Regions from separate parts of the Homo sapiens genome. Here region 1 is linked to region 2. The links are contacts of gene promoters, found by promoter capture Hi-C in human tissues and cell types (Jung and others, 2019). All regions are on one chromosome and are shown on one strand. The core of a region is centred on a gene start or on the middle of the fragment in contact, and the rest is flanking DNA. Distances in the headings are between cores, read along the strand shown. Region 1 overlaps RAB28 (RAB28, member RAS oncogene family). Region 2 holds the start of NKX3-2 (NK3 homeobox 2).

Region 1 (5,906 bases), core at 2,562-5,061, 64 kb before region 2:
ATTTTAGGAACATGATCTTCATTACATGTTTTCAAATTCTGACTACAATCATATCAAGACCCTAAATCATCTATCTATCCAACTGTCTCCCATCTAAGAGGTTCATAGTCATGTGTTGAGGATACTTTTTAAATGCATGCCTTTCTAAATAAACCCTGTTATCAGTGTTTGCCTGTTTTTTTTAACATACAAATTCCAGTGACTCAGAAATAAAAATAGCTATGAATTACTGATAGTCCACTAATATAGAATGCTAACAAAAAATGACTATCTTTAGTTTCAATAAATGATATTTTAATATTACTTCTTATATCTAGAAATATATTTTTAACTCCACATTTTAATTTTAGGATTATTAACACATAAAACTAAAAATAAAATGTGGATTCCTTATTTGAGGAGCAAAATCCCATGAGGATATGATTCAAATCAATATTCATTTTCATTTTTGCAGGCATAAACATATGAATTCTCCTAGTATATTTTCAAGATGACATACCTATAAAGCTATATAAGAATATTCAAATAATATTATAATTTTGTTTAAATCAAGAATATATCTAATACAAATTTCTAACCAATAAAGAACATTAAGGAAATTGTCAGAAATCTAATCCCAAACACAAAATGCTGCAAAATTCCTGTTCCTCTGTAAGAAATGACATGTAACTAGGAGAAAAAATAAAATAAATGAGGTGACAAAACACAGGTAAGTTGCTTTTGGTATGAATTAAAGCCACCAAGAGGGTTCAACAGTGACCTTGTAAAAGTACACTTGGTGCCTTGGTTAACCTTACTTAAAGTGCTGCATAGTCAAGATGGAACTAAAAACACAAGTCTGCCCACTTCTTGTACTAAAGACTTAGAAATCTTTTTCACAGTAGAACGCTGTTTACTGGACTGTACCCACAAGCTTCCTGAAAGTATTTTGACTAAGGCTCTTAAGAAGCTCTATCAGCAGAATCTCTGACTAACAGATACACTATTTTAAGCAGTAAAATCTGCACAGTGGTTGCATCCAGACTATACAGCATACCGGATCATGAAATATACTAAAATGGATGAGTATTTGCAAAGTAATGATCTTGAAAACTTGCATGAAGAGAATGTAAATAGATGGACAGGAGGTTTACACCCCTAACAATCTAACTGGTCAGAGGACTTACCAGACTAGTAACAAATATTAGATTCACCGACTATGCTATAAATTCAATAAAGCTACCTGTAATGTTTTATTCAGCTAATGATACATTAATCATCCTACATGTGACACTTATAATGAATGTACATTAAAGTATATAAAGGATAATTATAAACCTTGTAATTTATTCACCTCATTTCTTAATATACCTATTAATTATATAAAAACAAAATACATTAAAATATTTTTTCTTATTGAAATTTCTACCATAAGTTTGAGTCTGTTAAGTAGCATAAAACCAACTGCCTTAAAAAAAAAATAGAAGTTTTTTTCTGGAACTTTGCCATCAAAATAAAAACTTAATTAGGAAAATTAAAATATACATTCATTAGTATACATGCCCTAATGTCATTTTTTAACCTAATTACTAAGTCTAAAATATTATACTATAAATCTCGATTTCAAGAATATCAAATATTTTTTACAAAGTAATCAAAATTTTTAAATTGGTAGTGCTGGGCCACAGGTCAGAAATCATCATATCACCTGTATAAAATGTCTGAAAACCAGTCTTTGTTTTTAATATTTGAGTAGGTACTTGTTTATTTAAGCTTTTCAACTAAAAAATGAGAAATAATAAAGTAATGAGACAAGAAGTTGGTGGCTTTTCAAATTAAGCATCAAAACAAAATAGCTAATAATGAAATGCCACATTTGAGATTCTCTGTGTACAACTGGCATCTGTGAAAAAAACTCCTGCAAAAATAAGCTTCCAGCATCTGTATTATGTGATCTGTGTATGTATTCAGCTAGTGACTGCTGTTAAGTATTCTGAATGCAGCATAGATTATCCGTAAGAGTGAGAATAATAAAATTAAAATGACATTTTCAGTTTTGGATACAATAAAAGAAAATACAAATGAAACAAAGTACGCATATGTTTCTCCTTAAACCTCTTGCTGAACAATAACCCAGTAATGGAAAAATTGGAATTCTTTTTTTTCTCATGGGATATCTCCTAATCTATTTTTCACTGGTAGCCAAATACAAACTATCACAAAATATAGCAGAGTATATTACTAAGGAGATAAGAAGAATACCTCCATTACCAAGAGTTTTCATTACCTACTCTAAAACTTTCATGGGGAGTTGTCTGATAGATGGGGTGTCTGAGAGGTTAACATATTTCAATAATAATTGGAATGTATTAAACCCCTTCCCACTGTATCACTCACATTTCAGTACATGAATCTGACATTACACTTGCAACCATTTTCTCCAAATGTGCTTCCTCACAGAGGAGAGAGATGGATGGTTTATAAAGTCAATCAAGATAAACTGCTTTTAATAAAATACTTTAAACATATAATTTAACCATTGAAATTGAAAGGACAGCATTTTAAAGCCCCAATTGTTCAGAAACTAACTTAAAACATAAACCACTCTTTCTTTGTTATTATTTCCCCGTATTTCCCACAAAATGTGCTGCAACTGGCATCTAAATAGTTTCTTTGCATGGTGAAGTGAAACATCTTGAATGCTCAAACTGTATTTTTATGAGTGCCTAGGGACCCTAAATTTTAGTGGTCTATTAAATGCCAGCAATTTCATGCTGCCTTGCATAAAACAGCATTCACATATTAGAGCACAGAAGTTCCATAGCTACATTATACTTCTGTTCCAACTTTAAACAAAAAACTAAAACAGAGGCAAATCAAAATAATATTTTAAAAAATAATCCTTCCCAATCTTTTCACATTTTGTTAATACAATATCTGTTGACAAATGTACAGCACTTAATTTTTTAAAAGCTTTTCACAATTTTATAAGCAACCATTGTTTATCCTCAAAAAATGTATAGTAGCCAAAAACAGGGAAGGAGTGGGAGAGTATATAAACTTTTTCTTATACCCATGGACAATATGCTTTCATGATAGATTGTGATGAAAGTTAACATCCCTAAGATAAATTTACTGTTTATATACATCTTCATGTAGAAGCAGCCCCAAAATTTTACACATTTCTTTCTTATGCCACTTATTGTTAAGATTTTTTTATAATCTTCTACGTTAAGACTTTTTAGTCTCTTACCTGGCAATGTTATCCTTCTCAAAAAGAAATCCAGTCCTATAGTTTGTTTGTACTGTTTCCCAAAAGTTTCTTGAGCAAAACACGTAGTTAAGGAGGTCTAAAAAATTGATGCACAGAATGTCAAAATTAATTCATTAAAGAAATGTAATCATAAGACCACTATAAATCTTAAGCAATCTTAACATGTATATTGCAATTAATCCAACAAGCAAATTTAAGCAGTTCTAATCAGTTACAAGGAGGGGAGAGACTTAACACCACCAGGTAAATTTTACTTGCCAGCAGCTATCGGTAGGGACAACGAACTAATGAGTTAGATCTCTTTAAATCCCCTGCTTGTCAAGATCCTTTTCCTTGCTGAAAATTAGAATTTGAGAGTTATCAACAGAAAAAAAAACTAAAAAATAAATAAATAAAGATCTGAATTATTTTAAAACATAATTAAAGATCTAATCTAACTTAGATCAGCTTCTGAGGTTAAATATTCTGAGGGTAGCTGAGCACTAAGCTAATAATAAGAAGCATTCATTAAGGAGGGAGAAATCTGCTTACAGAATTTTTCTTTTTCCCACAAGAAAAGCACCGTATGTAATTTTTCTTTATTTTTAAAGATGCTAAATGAAAATGACCCTAAAGAAAGACTGTGACAATATGTACCTCTTAAATAAACGTATTTTTAAGATTAATATAAAGCAGACAAAATGAATATTTTCCATCCAAGAACCATAATGCCAAGAAGTCACAAGCTATCATAACCAGAACAGATATACATTTGTTTTTTAATAGAAACTGAAAGTTTTAGTCAAAAACTCTGGAGTTTTCTTTTTAAAGTACCATTTCTTATCAAAGCAAAAGAATAATTATTCTAGTAACAACTGAATAACAATAACTTAACAAATTCTTAAACATTTTAAATGCACTATTTTTATTTATAAACTTCCTCCAAAAAAGAGAAAGGCAACTTCACTAAGCTTTTATGCTCTTCAAGACAGACTCCCTACTTTAAGAGAAAATAGCCGTTTTTTATTTTAAAAGTTAAAATTACATGTCAACTCTTAAAATAATGAAAACTAAGATAAATTTCCAAGATAGCTTATTACAGTTCCTTATGACATAAGCAGTACAATAGTGCAAAAGAAAATTTGGCCAAACTTCAATTCCTTTTAGCAAGATCATCTAAAATTCCTTTTACACAGAACCATATTTTTCACACAAATGGCAATTTGGACACCATAACTCCAAATATTTTTGGGTTTAAATACCCAGCATTTGTAATAAATTTCGAAGATAATTGGCCAAGTATTTGTTGAGCACTACCATATAAAGGGTATTCTGCTAGACATCTAGAAACAAACACATTTGTTATATTTTTGACACATGTAACACTATCAAAACTGAGAGATCAGAATTGAAAAGATAGGTATTTCTTTTTACAGACCATTGTTTCTCATCTACACTATATTATTCTACTGATCTTATCTAACTTAGACCACAAAATCATCTTTGAAGAGGTTCAGAATTCTAGAAAAAAATAACTATCACTACTTATACTATTACAGATATTTCAAAATATTTAATAGACTGATGGTTGAAATACTTAAAGGTCAAAGAGAAACTGAAGGCATGTGTAACATTCACGTAATGTCATTTGAGATAATTTTTCACTTTAAAGAATCTCAGAGTTCAATATTTTCATGTTAAGGAATATTCAGAAAAATTCTAAGAAAGTTTCTTTTCCTGAAAAAGTGACTTCTAGATTTTGAAAGCCCTGCTTTCACACTTTTGAGGCAAACATAAAGCTAGGATTTTCAACTGGAATCGAGTGTAAACTGTCAAAAATACAGGTTACTGGGAACATACAGAGTATTAAAGTAAGTTCTTACTATATCATCTCCCGATGTCTTGAGATAAAAATTGAACAGAGAATCAACTGAATCAGTGGGGGTCACTTTCTCTTCACTTATCTAGACTGCATGCTATCTTTCACATTCAATAATTTCTCAAGTCACTGTATAAATACCCTTCTTAATTACAGGTATTAAGTGAACAACTAGCTCCCATATCAGAAATATTTTTATCTGAATCTTTATATTTTTTGATTTGGAAAATTTCTACTAACATTTTTGACTTGGTAAATTTCTACTAACATTTTTTAACCATGCTACATTTACAAACACTGAAAAGACAGAAAAAAAAAGAATATTTTGCCTCAAAAAGCTCTTAAGAGACTATGTAATAAAAGAAAAAATATGAATCAGAAAAGGAAAGAAATAGAAACACGTGATACTGGAAGGAGGAGCTAAATTTCTCTTGGAGAAACTGTTAGTCATCATCTCAATACTCTATTGCATCTGTCAGTGTGTTGAAAAATGCTCAGAGTTAGATTGAGCAGGAAAAACAAATGCCAGGAAAAAAGAGCCAAGAGTTAAATCAGGATACAAGTAAGAATGAAAGAGAGGCTGAGTTCACAAAGAAAAGAACAATAAAGGAAAAAGAATGGGAATGTTGGTGGCTGCCAAGTATTTGAGAACTGAATAGGGTATGGAGAAAAAAATTCTTGATTTAAGAATAATGAAAGAAGGTTAGGTGTCAGATGTTTGTGTCTGGAAGTTCCTGTTAGAAAAAGCTGTTACAGTTTTAAAATAAGTTATTTAGTCAAGATAATGAAGATTAA
Region 2 (6,215 bases), core at 1,420-3,919:
CAGGGGACAAGTCCTGGCTAACGGGAGCTGGAGCTGGGTTTCACCTCCAGGTGCCTCCTTGGCGGGGCGCCCCGTGCAGGCTACAGCCTACAGCTGTCAGCGCCGGTCCGGAGCCGGAGCGCGGGAATCACTCGCTGCCTCAGCCCAAGCGGGTTCACTGGGTGCCTGCGGCAGCTGCGCAGGTGGAGAGCGCCCAGCCTGGGAGGCAGTAGTACGGGTAATAGTAGGAGGGCTGCAGTGGCAGAAGCGAGGGTGGCCGCAGCACTTCGCCGGGCAGGTATTGTCTCTGGTCGTCGCGCACCAGCACCTTTACGGCCACCTTCTTGGCGGCGGGCGCCGAGGCCAGCAGGTCGGCTGCCATCTGCCGGCGCTTTGTCTTGTAGCGACGGTTCTGGAACCAGATTTTCACCTGCGTCTCGGTGAGCTTCAGCGACGCGGCCAGGTCTGCGCGCTCGGGCCCGGACAGGTAGCGCTGGTGGTTAAAGCGGCGCTCCAGCTCGAAGACCTGCGCGTGGGAGAAAGCGGCCCGCGAGCGCTTCTTGCGTGGCTTGGGCGCCGCCGGCTCCTCCTCCTCCTCCGCGACGCCTGCCGGCCCGCTGCCGCCCCCGCCGCCGGCCCCGCTGCACAGCGCGGACACGTGTGCACCTCTGGGGCCAACACCGTCGTCCTCGGTCCTTGGGCTGCGGTCGCCTGCGGACCCCGGTGGGAACAGAAACAAGAGACTGTCAGCGCCACAGACGAGGTGAGGCCGGGCCTCAACTGCAGGGGTCACGGGAGTGGGGCGGAAATACACTTTGATCCCACTCAAGCGGAGCGGAGGTCTGGGAGGCCCTGGGCCCGGGAGACCAGTCTTAGACTCTTGCCCCACTGGGTATCCCATCTAGGCCTCTTCTGGGGAGGGCGGCAGACTCAGCCGCTGTGTCAACGCTGTGTTGTCGAGACCAGCTCCCCACCCTCTCTGGGCCCCAGGCTCCCCTCAGTAACTTGGGGCACTCGACCCGAGCATCCGCGAAAGCCCTCCCGGCTCTCAGCGTTGAGCATTGGGATTCTAGACTGCATTTCCGTCTCTCTGCTTGGGTTCACGCGCCTCTCCACACTTAGTTCACACGCACACACGCGCGCGTCCTCGCAGCACACACTTGTCTGGTGCAGGTAAGGGAAGGTGGAGGCGGATCCTGGGGCCAAAGGTATTTAGAATCTTTCACCCTCAGCCGCCTGGGATTGCTGTGAGAGACATGGAAACAGGCTGAGCCGAGGCCTTAGATGAGAGGATGGACTGGAGAGTAAAGAGGGAGGGTTGCCCCTGCATCGAGTTTTTGGACCCTGATCCCACACCAGCTTCTCGGTCTCGTACCCGCCCTTCCGAAGAACTCCAGCAGAAAGGTCCAGCGGTCCCCTGTGCTTGAGGCCTACAGAAGCTTGTACCCAACTAGGGCAGGCACCCGGGTCTTCCAGACCACAGGACAGGACAGGCCACGGCTGAGGAGGCCTCTCTCCTGCCTCCAGGATGAACTAAAGACCCAATCCGGGATCTTCGGCCTAGGGCTGCTCTCCCAGACCTGGGGTCTGAGAAAGCCAAACCAGCCCTTTCCCCAAAGCTCTAGTTCTGCAGATTCTCAGCTCTGGCCCACTCGGAGGTGTTCTTCACCACCTATCCACCTACTGTGGGGCCCGGCCCTGGGACCTTGAACTGGCAGGTCTCTGGTCCAGAGCTAGGTCACTGGCTACCTGAGGTCTCTGAACCCCTCACTTTTCCGCTTCCCTGATTTTGGGGATTTGGGGACAGACACGGCAGAAAGCACTGGCGACGAACTCAAAAACTCCCGAACGCAAGGGGCAGCGGTTCTCCCAACCCAGTCTAATGCACATTGGCCCAGGATGTCTCAGGCCTCACCCCAGGACGTAGGGCTCTGAGGAGCTACTCCGGTCTCTCGCGGGCTCAGTTCCCGAAGTGATAGAGCAGCTCGCGCCAGAGCGCAGAACTTCGGGATTTGGCCAGCCTCCGAGCCCCAGGGCGCAGGGTGCTCAAGCCGACCACCCCACTCGGCGTGGTTGCCCTCCGCGTCCATCCCCTCAGCCCGGCCCCCATCCCCGCGAAGCCGCAGCAGACCTGAGACGCTGGCGGACATCTCGCTGTCGCTCCGGCCCGCGGCTTCCTCCTCTAGGTCTTTGGAAGCGGCCAGCTCACAGACCGGCTGGCCGAGGCTCAAGGATCCCCCCGCAAGGCCGGCCCCGCTGGCCCCCCGCGCGTCCGCGCAGCGCCGCCTGCTCTCGTTCTCCTCGCTGAGCGCGGAGTCCGAGTCCCAGCCTTCCGGGCTCTCCGCAGTCCGCCCCGCAGCTGTTCTGGTACCGGCAGGAGACGCCAGCAGAGAGTCCTCGGCGCCCCCCAACGCGCCCGCGTCCCTCTCCCCAAAGAGCCGCCAACAGCAGACAGCGGGAGCCGCGGCCACCGATGCCGCTGTGCCCCCGGGCGCCGGGCGCCCCTCTGGCGCGGCCAGCCCGCCGCGCTCCTCTTTCTTGTTGAGGATCGCCTGGATGGAGAAGGACGTCAAGGTGTTGGCGCCGCGCACAGCCATCTGCGCCGCGGGCAGGAGCGGCCGGCGGGGCGGGCAGCTGGGGCGCCGAGCAGCTCCGAGCGGGACAGAGAGCGCCGGCGGCCGCAGCGCGAGTGAGCTGGGTGTGCGAGGCCGCCGCCGCCCACTGCTGCGCGGCCCAGCAGCTCCCGCCCCACTCCGTCCCAGGATCAGCGCCGACCCTCGCCCCCACCTTAGAGGCCCACCCCGCCCGGAGACCCCCTCCCCCCGAATCCAGAGCCAGACGCTCTCCTTTCGCAGCTCAGCTGGATTATCTCATCGCTTCTCGCCCTTAGGGGCGGGCTGGGGTCTGCCCCCTCGGGGGACGTGAAGGAGGATTGGCGGGGGCCCCTCCGTGGCAGCAGTCCCCTCCCGAGCGCCGCCGGGGCGCACAGCCCGAGTCACTTTTTCTTTGCGCGTCTGTCCCTTCCTCGCCTGCAGGATTTCGCTCCTGGCCCGTCCTCCCCTTCCCTGCTGGGCAGGCTCTTCCGGAGCCCACCCCCGGCGGCGGCGGCGGTAGCCGCGGCCGCGGCCGCTGGATTCCGAGAGGCGCGGGGAACTTTTTTACCCCCTGCCCTGGTTTTATCTGTTTCTTTTCTCTTTCCTTCCCTTGCGTTCCACTGTACCACCCCCCTCCCGCCCGGGTGTCATTCCTCACTGCTGAGTGACAGCCTGAGGCCACACCCCTCCACTGGGCTGTCCCGGGCGCTCCCGGCCGTCCATTGGCTGGCTCCAGTTGGGCGACGTTGACTTTAACAGACAAAACTGGGCACGTTGCGCCGCTAAAGACAGGGTCTGACTTAACCCCTTCTCTCCTAAGCCTGGTCCTCGAAGCACCCTCCAGCAACAAGGAGGCTCATCCGACCCAAACCACGTTTCTTACCTCTGCAGATGTATCCACTTATTCCAGCGCTTTAACAGAACACTGATACTAAGTTGAGTCAAATCTGCGGAGAAAATCCAAGATAATGCAGTTCCATAAATCATGCTCGTAGTTTCTGTTCTCTAGGAAGGATTATAAACACGAAGAACAAAATGCATCCTTTTTTTTCTCCCTACAGTTTCGCCGCTTCTTCATTGCTAATGCTCTTTGCTGAAATGATCAGTTAATTAAGATCACTCTAGAAATATTTTTCTTTCCTCGTCGTCTTTGATTTGATTCGATTTTTATAGAGGAATTATAAAAAAATGGTATAGTTAGAACTAAAGTCAGGAGAAGAATTGAAAGGCATCTTTGGGAGAATTTCTGTAAATTTTATGGTCGTTTCCCTGGCAGACCAATATTGAATTTAATTGGAGTTTGTTAAGTTTTGCATCAGGAAGAAAAAAAAAACTTTCAATTTGTTTTTTTTAAATATCTCTTACTTGTGAGTTGAATAAAATTATAAATAGATATGTTTGTTTGCTTAGAAGTATACCTAGGAATTACCATAAAGTGATCCAGAAGTGACAACACTTTTTGCTCTTTAAAAAATAAGAAATGCATTGTATTATGTAATAGTAGGAACCAAGCTAAGAAACACAAATATTGTGGGTATATAAAAACATTTTAAAATGTGTTATTCCTTTTTTAATATAAAATTTGCTCAATTAACGTACTTCACTGTTTTCCATAAACTTTACCAGAGAGTTAACACCAAATACACAAACTTGAACCATTAAATACATTTAAAGGACTATGATTTTAATTTATTAAATTGCTAGGATTGGTAGTTTTGGTGTCATTAAAATAAATAACATCTCCCCTTGTTGCTTTCTTTTTGGTTGTTCTTTTTCTGCACCGCAGAAGGAAATACACTGACTATTCATAGTTCTCAGTCTCAGAATGAGGTTTTGCAGCATCTATACTTTTCAGCATTTCGGTTACATGATGCTTTCTTGCTTTGTGCAAACCTTGTAGGGTACCTGGGAAAAAACATCCACTTGAGGTCATTGCCCTTTACAGCTCTTTACAATTACATCAGTTTTGAAGGAACGCCATTTAAATTTGGTGTCAGTGCTCAGCAAGTGTAAGGACGCAGAGTGGAACAGCAGAATGCTTACAGTCTTTCAAAAACAGTGTGTCCTCTCCTCCCCCGCTGTATTATTTAAATTACCGTTCTCCTCACTTCGGGCAGGGATGTTGGGAATTATGTATAGTGAGGAGATTGACACTGGTTGCCTGGAAGGTAGGGGACGGGCAGGTATGGGTTTGGTGTCCCGTACAGCGATCGCTTTGTGGGTTTAGTACTTGGTGCTGACAAATAATGGAGTGAGATCCGAACATAAAGGCAGGCAGAGATGTTTTGGGGCTGAATCACCGAATACTAGAGTAGGTTTGGGGCTACGTAAAGACTTGCTTGAAAACAACTACCATTTAGTTGCGAATCCCTCCCCTCTTCCCTTTGATTCGATGTTTAAAAAGAATCCCAAATCACAGTTGGACATACTCCTGCCACAGCCTTGGGCAGAAGTCTTCAAAGCATGAAAAGATGTGGTTTGGCGACTTTGAGTTGTCGGGTATTTTTGTGTCCCAGGAGTGTGAGAAAGGGGCTACGTTCCGCGTCTTCCGGAGGCGCACAGCAAGGGAGTCTCCTGGTGTCATCTCGGGCCATTACGGCGCTTAGTCGATCATTAGGTCTGTGGGTGACTGTAGGCAGAGCCGGGAGTTGGGTGCTTGGCGCGGAGGGTGAACTCGCGGGTCTTGAGCTGCAACTAGAAGCTGCTCCTAGCAAGGGGTCGGGTGGAGATGAAAAGACTGTGGGGAAGGGGAGGTGGTTGTATGCCCAGAGATATCCCGGCGTAACTACGGAGTCCAGGCCCAGAGTGGCGGTGTGTGGCGAAGGCGCAGCAGGCCTGCGCCTGTCGGAGGACGGCAGATCTGGACGCGACCGCGCGGGCGTGCCTGGGTCCCGCTTCCTGCCCATCGAGGGCGACTTCCTTCGGGCTCAGCTGTGAGCTCCAGGAACTCTGCAACCTCCCGACGGGCGCCACGCTCCGGCTTGGGCCGGCCCGGGAGTTGGCGGAGCTGCGCGGCCCGGCCGGGCGGCCGGTGAGGCTTTCGAGAGGCACCGGGCTCGCTCAGCGTCCGCGCCTCTCTACCCCGCCGCGCCCCCTCCGCGCCCACGGGCCCATTTTTTCCTAGTCTTCTGCCTCTCTTCCTTCTTCCTCCCTCCCCTCCTCCTCCACACCTTTGTCTTCTTCCTCCTCCCTCCTCCTGCTTCTCCTCCGCAGTTTGGATCCTACGGGCCCCCTACGTGCCGCGCCCTTCGGTCCCCGGAACCGCCCGGGCTGGGGGTGCTGCTGCGCGGTGAGACTTCCGCGGGCGGCGGGCGGAGAGCGGGATTTGACTGCGAAAGCCAAGGGGGCGGGGAAGGGGAAGCCCCGGCCCTCGGGGGCGCGCAGTAAACTGCTGCACACGTGCCCGCGCTCCCGAGGGGGGCGCCCAGTGGGCTCGGGATTTCCTGGCTGCGCCACCGCGCGCCTCGCCCCCGACGCCCGCCACCTGTGCCCTGGGCCGCCTTCCCTGACGCCAGCGGCCGGAGGTCGCGCGCGCCGGGTGCTGCCCAGCAACGAAAGGCCATGCGGGGTTCGTCCCTCAGATGCCGGTGACCTTGATTGAAGTCACCTGCCTTCTCTAGCTTCCAGTCCTTTAAAACGAGG

What was found. Contacts are between HindIII fragments. The study calls those that stand out against the background at their distance.
Region 1: a fragment that was not itself captured here is called in contact with the fragment with the promoter of NKX3-2 in region 2 in 2 of the 25 tissues and cell types used here (hippocampus and neural progenitor cells).

The regions. Positions count from the first base shown.
Region 1 is chr4:13,476,198-13,482,103 of GRCh38, forward strand. RAB28 (RAB28, member RAS oncogene family) reads right to left here. Exons shown (of 7, transcript NM_001017979.3): 2 at 3,233-3,329. Among named protein-coding and RNA genes, the nearest start is that of RAB28, 5.2 kb to the right of the region's middle. The HindIII fragment of the contact is 3,960 bases long and covers 1,832-5,791 here.
Region 2 is chr4:13,541,839-13,548,053 of GRCh38, forward strand. NKX3-2 (NK3 homeobox 2) reads right to left here and starts at 2,670. Exons shown (of 2, transcript NM_001189.4): 1 at 2,111-2,670; 2 at 1-690. The coding sequence starts at 2,576. The coding sequence ends at 155. LINC01096 (long intergenic non-protein coding RNA 1096) reads right to left here and starts at 5,986. Exons shown (of 1, transcript NR_015450.1): 1 at 4,238-5,986. RefSeq lists silencers at 466-595, 5,513-5,632, 5,823-6,122 and enhancers at 4,796-5,296, 5,297-5,797. The HindIII fragment of the contact is 14,287 bases long and covers 1-6,215 here.